Linked DNA regions of Homo sapiens: all the other regions are linked to region 3. The links are contacts of gene promoters, found by promoter capture Hi-C in blood cells and fetal thymus (Javierre and others, 2016). All regions are on one chromosome and are shown on one strand. The core of a region is centred on a gene start or on the middle of the fragment in contact, and the rest is flanking DNA. Distances in the headings are between cores, read along the strand shown. Region 1 overlaps WHRN (whirlin). Region 2 overlaps WHRN (whirlin). Region 3 holds the start of TNFSF15 (TNF superfamily member 15).

What was found. Contacts are between HindIII fragments. The CHiCAGO score rates a contact against its expected background, and 5 or more counts as called.
Region 1: a fragment that was not itself captured here is called in contact with the fragment with the promoter of TNFSF15 in region 3 in 1 of 17 cell types (total B cells); the score reaches 5.2 in total B cells.
Region 2: a fragment that was not itself captured here is called in contact with the fragment with the promoter of TNFSF15 in region 3 in 2 of 17 cell types (M0 macrophages and neutrophils); the score reaches 5.0 in M0 macrophages.

Annotation. Positions count from the first base shown.
Region 1 is chr9:114,430,912-114,434,101 of GRCh38, forward strand. The region is part of intron 3 of WHRN (whirlin); the gene reads right to left. Among named protein-coding and RNA genes, the nearest start is that of AKNA, 45 kb to the left of the region's middle. The HindIII fragment of the contact is 2,686 bases long and covers 76-2,761 here.
Region 2 is chr9:114,414,570-114,417,698 of GRCh38, forward strand. All of the region lies in intron 7 of WHRN (whirlin), which reads right to left. Among named protein-coding and RNA genes, the nearest start is that of AKNA, 28 kb to the left of the region's middle. The HindIII fragment of the contact is 3,286 bases long and covers 1-3,124 here.
Region 3 is chr9:114,804,163-114,807,352 of GRCh38, forward strand. It overlaps TNFSF15 (TNF superfamily member 15), which reads right to left and starts at 1,877. Exons shown (of 4, transcript NM_005118.4): 1 at 1,641-1,877. The coding sequence starts at 1,850. The HindIII fragment of the contact is 3,139 bases long and covers 1-2,096 here.

The DNA.
Region 1 (3,190 bases), core at 169-2,668, 370 kb before region 3:
CAGCATGTGAGTTGGTTTTGAGTGGCTCCCATTTTTCTGTGTCCAGCTCTCTCCCTTTTCCTCTACTTGTTGGAAAGCTTCCCCAGGTCTAGGAGCCCTGTCAGAAGAGCTGTCTACACGATCACTGTGATGTAGAGTCCACAAACCACTTTCAACCAAGTCTGGTGTCTTCTCTGCTGCTAGTGTCCTAGTGTCACCCCGTGTGGCCAGTGGAGTGTGGAGTCCCATCCCTACATTGCAGCCTCTAGTTTTAAAGCCAGGCAACCGTGACATAGTAGCTGAGTGGCCCCGCACAGCTCTCAAGTACAACCTGAGTCTCAGTTTTGTCATCTATAAGATGGGCATGATACTACCACTAGTTCCCAGGTAGCTGTGAGAATCAAATGGAACCACCCTGCACAGAGCCTGAGACACATCAGGCTTTCCATGGCTTCTCATGTGCTTCTCTTCCAGATACAGGAGACAGGTTCAGAGATGTTGAGGGACTTGCTCAAGGTCACTGGTCGTACTGGAAGTAAACAAATGAACCAGCCTTTGAGCCTAATCTTCTCATCTTCTTCCTACCAGCCTATGCCACCTTCACCCCAGCACAGCACTGGCATGCGGGAGATGCTTAGGAAATAGTGAATGGATGGGGGGACCCGGCCTTCCTCCTCTCTTGTTCTCACTTCTGTTTGTTTCCCCTTTCCCGTCAGTTGGTGTGAGTGAATTTGGAGGCAGCATGTTTAAAGATCTTACTCTCACTCTTTCCCAAAGAAAACTAAGAGCTCTGTTTGTTTGTTCATTGCAATGTGGCTTTTTCCTACCCACTGAAACCAACTCAGAGTTAGACGGCACAGGAAAATAAAGCAGAAAATAGAGGCAAAGATGCTGTATCCATCGGGGCCTTCCAAGGCGTCTCTTATAGATGCAGAATCCAAGGCTCAGAAAGGACAGGAACATGTCTAGGGCCACAGAGCAAGGCAACAGCAAAGCCCAGACCCACAGCTAACCGTGGAAACACTCATATCCCTCCACCAGAGCTCACTGGGACAGGACGTGCTGGAGATAGGAGAGACAGGTGCCAAGTGTGATCGAGTGTCTAATATTGCTCAGCTTGCTTGCAGGGCACTGATGGGGAGGACAAGGAAAGATAAACGAATAAAGGCAGCTTTATTTTATTTGTCACCATGGGAATCCTATTTGTCACCACTGATGGAGGAGTGGAGGGTGGACCATGGAATGCCCTTCATTTTAAGGCAGAGGAAAGACTCCTCCATCATCCACAGCCCACTGAGTGACTGGCTCATGTTCAGACACTTTGAGAAGAGCACGGCGGGGCTTCAATAAGGGCAGGATACCGATTTCCCTGAAATTGGCCAACCACCAGTAAGCAGAGAATTCAATTCCCTTAGGTCTGGGGCAGGCGCAGGAGCCCCAGGAGGAGAGGGGACCCTCGTAACAGCGGAAACACTCAGTGGACCTTGCTGGGTTAACGGAGCCCTCTTACTCTCCAAGAGACCTGAGGAAAATAATTTCATTGTTCTAAGCCTTCCTTCCCAAAATGGGAACAAGACCACTAACAGCTAGTGTGTTGTGCAAAGTACACCAGTGGCCATCTGGTGTGTGTTTCTGAGCACAGACCCAGGAGTCTCTGACTAATTCTACACTCTGTCACTTACTTGCTGTATGACCTTGGGTAATTGACTTCACTTCTCTGTGCCTGTTACCTCCTCTGGAAAATAGAGATCATATCAGTACCTGGTTGACAAATGAGTTAATACATTCCCCAGTGTATCACCAACACTTAAAACAGGGTCTGGCACATAGTAGGTGCTCAATAAATATTTACTGAATGAACAAGTATAAAGCACATAAACAAGTAGCTAACATACAGTAACTGCATGGGTCTCCATGGGGCCATAAATGCAATAAATGCATTTTTGAAAGCCATGCTTATCCCTGAATTCACCTGTTGATCACTCACCAACCAAATCTAGCAATTCTACCTCCAGGGTGTCTCTCAGCGCCACCCTCTACCTTTCCACCTACCTTCCCCAGGGCCCTGCCTCTGGCTTCCACTGACCTACACACATTGACCACACCCATGAAACTCATATTTTAATCCCATTTTACAGATGAGGAAGCCGAGGACGGGAAGTAGAGTCATTAAGAGCTGGGATCTGGCCTTCATTCTACCAGCCAGCAAGGCCCCTGCACGAACCAATACCACACTCTCCTTTAAGAAAAGCCAGCCTGCCCTTCCTCTACTTCTTACCCCTCCCAGCCCTGGGCTTTAGGCCATGCACTCAGTAGGTGCTGTATTCGTGCCCGATGAAGGGAACTGGCAGGAAGAACCTGTGGCGGAATGGCAGTAGCTTCGAGCTCCCTCGCCAGAAGTTGTTAGGAGAGAAGGCTGCCAACAACCTGATCCCGAGGCTGAGCTGGGAGACGGGAATCCATCCTCTCAGGCCGCGCGTGCACCTGTACCAGCCACGCTGGGAAGGGCCCGAAAGAAGCCGATTTCAGAGTTGCCTTCAGCACCCTCCCAAGCCTGTGTTAAAATGGATCTTGCGGCTTCAAGGGAGGTCCCTGTTGGCTACAGCATTATCACAAGGAAAATTCAAATTCTATTAAAGAGTTTTATTGCAATTATGAATCTTTAATAGTTTTCCATGTCAGGTGTAAAACTTTAATGGGCTGTTTTTTTTTCTTTCATTACAAGTAAGCAATACAGTTTTAATGAGACATTAGTTTTTCCCAACAGTTCAAAAGTCAGTAAAGCTTGTCCATATTTTGAAAAAGAAAATAAAAAGATGCAGGTAATTGCTAAGACAGTTCCTGGAGCAAGCTCAGGGTATGGGCTGGGTCTGGGTGAGCTCTTCACCCAACCCTCTCTGGTTTAGAGCTCTCACAAGGCAGAACCTAACCAGAAATGCTGTGGATGGACCCGGCAAGGCTAATGCACACTGACTCCCAATATGGTCTATGCTTCCTTCCGGTTCTCTCTTCTGACATTGGCAGATCCGTTGTTAGTACCTGCTTACTCTATTCACCACACAGGAAGCCTCAATGAAGGCCTGCTCTAACCCAGCCATCAATCAAAACTGAGGCCAGAAAGGGGAAAGAACTTGCCCAAGGTCGTACTCTGAGTCAAGGTCAAACCTGAGTTCTTCCCAAAGGAAAATCTGGCTTCCAAAGTAAACAGAGA
Region 2 (3,129 bases), core at 232-2,731, 390 kb before region 3:
TTCAAACAGGCTCTGACCTCCATGGGCTTGGCTCTGTTTGGTGGAAAGAGCTTCCAGCAATCCCAAGTTGTCACAGGGGAAGGCAGGTGTTCCATAAACCGCTACAGAGACAGCAAAGCACTGGCTGAGAGGAATGGTCCTATTCAGGCTCCAGGTAAAGCTGTGGCCGGCCTGAGAGGCTTTAATGCCTCTGGGCAAACTGATGATTCTGGAAGGTGCAGGGGGCACATGCTGAGGCCTCCCTGGGATGGAGTGGGCTCTTCTACTCAAGGAGAAGACACCTATCATCCTCGATATGCCCTCTCTGGGCACTCAGCAGCTTCCTGGGGTGGGGGACAGGAGGTCATCTGGACAGGAACAACAGCCTCTCCTGGTCACCCGCATCCACCTTGCACCTCTGGGCTCTCTCCACACAGAAGAGGCAGCTTAAAAAATGTAAACAGAGGGCTGGGTGCTGTGGCTCACACCTGTAATCCTAGCACTTTGAGAGGCCAAGGCGGGAGGATCCCTTGAGGCCAGAAGTTTGAGACCAGCTTGGGCAACATAGTGAGACCCCCATCACTACAAAAAAATGTAAAAATTAGCTGTGCATGGGAGCATGTGCGCCTGTGGCCCCAGTTACTCAGGAGGCTGAGGTGGGAGGACCACTTAAGCCCAGGAGTTCAAGGCTGTAGTGAGCTACCCCAACAGAGACCCTATCTCTTAAAAAAAAAAAAAACACAAACAGGATCACATCACATCCTTACTCAAGATTCTCCAGAGTATCCCATGGTTTTAGGGTTAAACACAAACGCCTCCCGCTCCTGACCCTCGCCCCTCTACCCCTCACTCCTGACACTCCAGCCCTACTGGTCTCCTTCCATTCTTCTGAGTGGCCATGTGCCAACCTGCTCAGGGCCCTCAGACATGCCCCACCAGCTCCTCAGCTGTCTCACCTCATCTATTGCCTGGCTGTAGCCAACAACTTCAGATCTTAGCTTCAACCTCTCTCCCCAAGTACCCCAGACTGGTCGGGGCCCATGTATGTTCTCACACCACCCTTCAGCCCGCTTTATCAGAGTGTGAGTTATGGAGATGATTTGAGTTGAGGTAGCCTCCTCCACTGGACTTGATCAGCTTCAAGAGCACAGGCTCAGCCCCTGGCAGGCAGGAGATGCTCCACAAAGGCTGCTGCATAGAAGAAGGAGTGGCTGAACGCATGACTGAAGGAATACATGGAGTTCCTCTCTTACCCCGCTCATGGATGGAGAACGATTCTCTAAACCATCCAGGTTGGACCAAAGTCAGGATGCAGGAGGAAAAATAAGGCCCTTTGACAGTTTTCTACTTGTTTCTGAAAAAAAAAAGCTGGTTTGACAGTGAGGGGTCCCTGCAGCTGGAGGGGCCTGAGACAAGCCTGAGCTTCTCCCAGTTCACTGTGCTGCAGACAAGGAGGGAGGCACAGAGGCCACAGAAGGAGGCCAATGCAGAGAAGCACTGACAGCCACATCTACTGCCCCCTATTCACCTTCTTTTTGGGGGACAAGAGGAGGGAAGAAGGACAGTAAGGCCTTCAGGGGCAGGGATCCTGTCCCCAGCATCCTTGGGCAGGGGCTGGGAGCCTCCTTCCAGGCATATGACAGGGCTGGAGCACAAACTCTCTCAAATCCAGGTGGAAAAAGCCTGAGGTCAAGTCCAGGGCAAATCCCAGCTGCTGCCACCTGACCTCAAGGGCATTTGCTCCTTGAGTACAAGGCTGGCCTTGACCTCTCCAATCCCCTTTTCTCTACAATGCTCTGCAGTGCCTGAAATGCTTTGGCTATGTATCCTCACCCAAATCTCATGTTGAATTGTAATCCCCAGTGTTGGGGGAGGAATCTGGTGGGAGGTGATCGGATCATGCGAGCAGATTTCCCTTTTGCTGTTCTCGTGATAGTGAGTAAGTTCTCATGTGATCTGGTTGCTTAAAAGTGTACAGGACTTCCCCCTTCTCTTCCTCCTCCTCCAGCCATGTAAGATGTGCCTGCTTCCCCTTCAAACTTCCACCATAATTTTAAGTTTCCCGAGGCCTCCCCAGCCATGCTTCCTGTACGGCCTACAGAACTGTGGGTCAATTAAACCTCTTTTCTTCATAAATTTCCCAGTCTCAGGCAGTTTCTTACAGTAGTGTGAGAACGGATTAATACAGGGCCCTTTTCCAACCTTTGGAGTAGAAACAGAATGGGCTCCTCCACACTCCACACCTGCATATCCACTCCTGATCTCACTGAATCTTCAGAACAACCCAGACAGCTGGTCTTATCAGCCCACCGTACAGATGCAGAAATGGAGGCCCAGAAGACACAAGTCATCTGCCCAAGGTGACAAAGCTACTACTCTGGAAAGCAGAACCCAGCTGGTAGGATCCCAGAATCTGTGCAATTAAGCCCCTCTGCCACAGGCATGCTGGCACTAGATGAAGAATTCAAGAAATAACAGGCAGGCCTTTCTTCTTTCACTCTGCTCTCTCGGCCAACATCTTTATGGGGGAAATGATATTGTGTGAAGGCAGCATAAAATGCTCAGGGCTGGCTCTCTGTTAGACAAATGGAAAATCAACACAGTTTGTGAATGGGGGAAAGCTGGATCTGATTTCCTTTGATTGACTGTGTCTGCTTTGAGGGGAAATGGCTGCAGAATGAGCCACATTTAACCTGGGATCAATAACCACACAGCATGATCCGAGGAATTCAGGCTAAATGGAAACTGGCTCCATTTGGGGCCAGTGTCTGGGGCATCTCGGTCATCGATAGCCAGCCACCTGATGTCATCTTGCCCAACTGAACACTAGAACAAAGAACATTTTCCTACCATGTGGGAGGCGAATGTTTAGAAGGCCGCATAGTAGAAGATAATCCTGCAAGTGGCCGGGGAGTGTGTGCTTTCCTTCCAGTTTCTGTTCCACACTTTCTGGGCCTCCATTTTGCACCAGCTCTCGCTGTTTATTGGGGAAGGGAAACCCACGAAGAGGTTAAAGCAATGTGACAAGTGATTTAGCAGAGGTATGAGGAGTGTGTGAGCTCCATGCAGGAAGGGATTTTGGCCATGTTATGTTTTGGGTTGTTGTCCACATTTTAGGGTTATTACTCAGCATTACTGCAGCAAAAGCTT
Region 3 (3,190 bases), core at 627-3,126:
TAATGATAATGGAATGGATGGTGTCAGCCTTATTCATTTCTTGAGCATCTGCAATTGGATAGGCACAGTGATAGATTCAGGTAGGGGCAGTAGCAGTGAGTAAAAAAGACCCCGTGCCTTCCTTCACCGAGCTTCCCGTCTAGTGACAGTGCATGTCTCCATCTCACCTTCTGGCTGGGCAAGTCATGGATCCTCCCTGGTCTGTAACATTCTGCTTGCTGGTCTTCTAGATAGACAAAGGCAGTCCTCGCCTTCTGCTGACCAAGGGCTCTCAGACATCATCTTGATCGTGGGAACCTGTCATGCCTCTGGGCTTCCTTCAGACCCCAGTGCAGGTTTCTGGAGGCCACTCAGTGTCTCATTCAAGGACAACTATCTCCTTCTGGCTAAAGAGGGACAGAGTCCCAGAGCACCAACTGGGCGCTGCAGTTTGACTTCCAGCAGAAACTGGCCCCTTGGTGGTCAAAGGGTCAAAGTCTGACTTCCCATGACCTGCGGTTCTTCTTTAACATAAACAGCATTTCCGGTTTGTCTGCATATTTCTACATTTTATGAGCAATGGCATCTGGCCATGAACGCTGCTGCCTGAATCACAGTCTGTTTGTTGACCCTGATGGGGCAGCGAGAATTACAGATTTTCCATGGCTTACTTGTGGTGTCTATGCTTTGAAACTGGCCAGGATTGCTTAGAGGCTAGGTTTCCAGTTAAACCCATTGAAAACCCATTTTTTTCCCTTTGCAATTTAATACTTTGAACTGAAATGAAATCAGCCACCATAGATTATGAAGGGACATTTTTAAAAAGGATATTACTGGAAAGACTCATTCCTTAGGTTTTGAGGTACATCTTTGTTGTTCCCAGCCAAGAATTATGTTTTCTTCTTGACACCTATCGCTGCCCCTACCATTGTTCTCCCTAGACTTCATATTCTTTTTCTGACTAGGCTTCTCCCAGGCCTCAGCAAGACCTTAGAGATAGACAACCAGGCAGGAGGTTCTTTCTTAAGCTCTAAAAAGAGAAAAAGTTCTAAACCCAAGAAAAAGAGTGGGTAAAGAAATTATAGCATCCACATATAGGAATGTGTATCTATAGCATCATGTTGTTGTGAATTCATTAGCATATAAATAAAATCATAATATATTAGCAGACTCAGAATAATCTCGTCTCATTAAAAAATCCGTTTTATATCTGGCATATAATTCTGTACAGAATTATATATCCCAAACTGTTAACAGTGGTCAGCTATAAGAGTTATGGGTAATGATGACTTTCTTCCTCTCCTTATCTGTATTTTCTAACTTTTTTCAATGACCGTGTTAGTTATGTAATTTTAAGTTTTTTTCTTAAATAAAAAGAATCTTCCCAAATTACCAGTATACTATGATTATAATTATCTAAAAAATATGAGGCTGAAGGTTATCCCCACAGTAAAAGAAGGGACTGTTCATTCCCTAGAAATATTGAGAATAAACACCAAATTGAACCTCTCCACCCCTCCCACTCTACATTTCCTCTGCATGTAGAAACAAGAAATGTGATACATCAAGAAACTCTATCCTCTGTCCAGAGCTGAAATAGTTGCCACTCACTGCAGAGAGTCCACTGCTCCTCCCCAAGGTCAGAGTGCCATGTGGCTTACCTGGAACTGCACACAGGCCTCTCCCTGGGCCCGGAGCTGGCTGACAAGCAGGTATGTGGTGAGTCCTGCAAGGAAGGGGAGCAACACCAGGCAGCAGGTGAGAGCCCAGCGTGCGCTGCTGCTCCTGGCCTTGGGCCTGCAGCTGCCGTGCTCTGGCAGCATTTCCACACTGGCTGTTTCCCCAAAGCTCAGTCCCAGATCCTCGGCCATGCTCCTGCTGCTCCTGGAGGCACCTCTGACTCCTGGGCAGAGAGAGCCCCCATTAAATAGAAGACCAGCTCTCACAGTGGGTGACTTAATCACTCAGTCTCCTCCTTCCCTTTTCCTCTCCCCTCCCCTCTTCAAGAGCACACTGTGGCCCTACCCTGCTAGAGAATGCACCGCCTACAACAGAAACCAAGTTTGGTTTGAGGAAAAAAAAAAAAAAAAAAAAAAGAAGAAGAAGGAGAAGAAGAAAGCTTTCCCAAGCATATTTATATACAGTATGCTCATGTGCTCCTTCCTTCGTTTACAGAAGGAAGTTAGGAAAGTCCCTGAAGGAGGAGAGAAAGAATTCATCAAGTCAGTGGGTGGGGCAAATTAAAATATACCTGTTCCCTGCACTGGAGGCTTACCAGCTGTGCCAGTCTGGGGAGTGTGCTTCTGGAAGTGAAAGTGAGGGATGAGAGGTGTGTGGTTTGCAGATTGGGAAACGGAAATCACATTTGCATCAGCTCTTTGCAAAGTGCTGCCTAGCCCTCTGTCATTTTGAACCTCATAGAAATTCATTCTCAGTGTACAGATGGGAATAGCAAAGTTCTAAAAGGTGAAGGCACTTGTCCTAGGTCATCCAAGGATGAAGACAGAGGAGCTAGGAAGATGACCTAGTTCTAAATCACGGCTTGGAGTTGTAACCTCTAGCACATGACTGCCCATGAAAGGAAAGTATTTCCAGTCTGCATTGACCATTGTTTAATCAGAGTATGAGGCCACAGATCGAGGTGACTGTCTGTGAGGGTAGAACATTAACCACTACTCCCTGATTAGTCTAAAGTTAATTGATCATGTGATGTGCTTTGCCTGCAGTTGGGTGTGGGGGCCACAACATGTAATAAAAGATTATATTTATTAAGTGCTTACTTTGTGCCAATCACTGCTCTAAGTTAAATACATCAATAAAATTATTCAATCCTGAGATAAATTTTGTGACAATAAAGCTATCATTCTCATTTTACACATAAGAAAATAAAGCACAGACGGCAAGTGGTAGAGCCAGGATTGGGACTCAGGCAGGCTGGCTGCTGGCTTCTTCACCATCACACTTCACCATAGGTACTGCTGGATCATGCATGTTCATAAATACCTGCACTGTCTTTACCCAGGAGTGGGTAAGACCCTGCAGTGAGGGGGTTGAGGGGGCTTCCTGGAGAAAGAGGTGGTGTTGGAACTCGGCCTTAGAGCTCAGGGAGGGTTGATCTCAGAGGAAAGTAAAGGACCCTGGGAAAAGATGGGTTCTAGAAATAATAGGAAAGTTTAAGGAATGGCCTGTGATGTACGGCAGAAACCAGTTT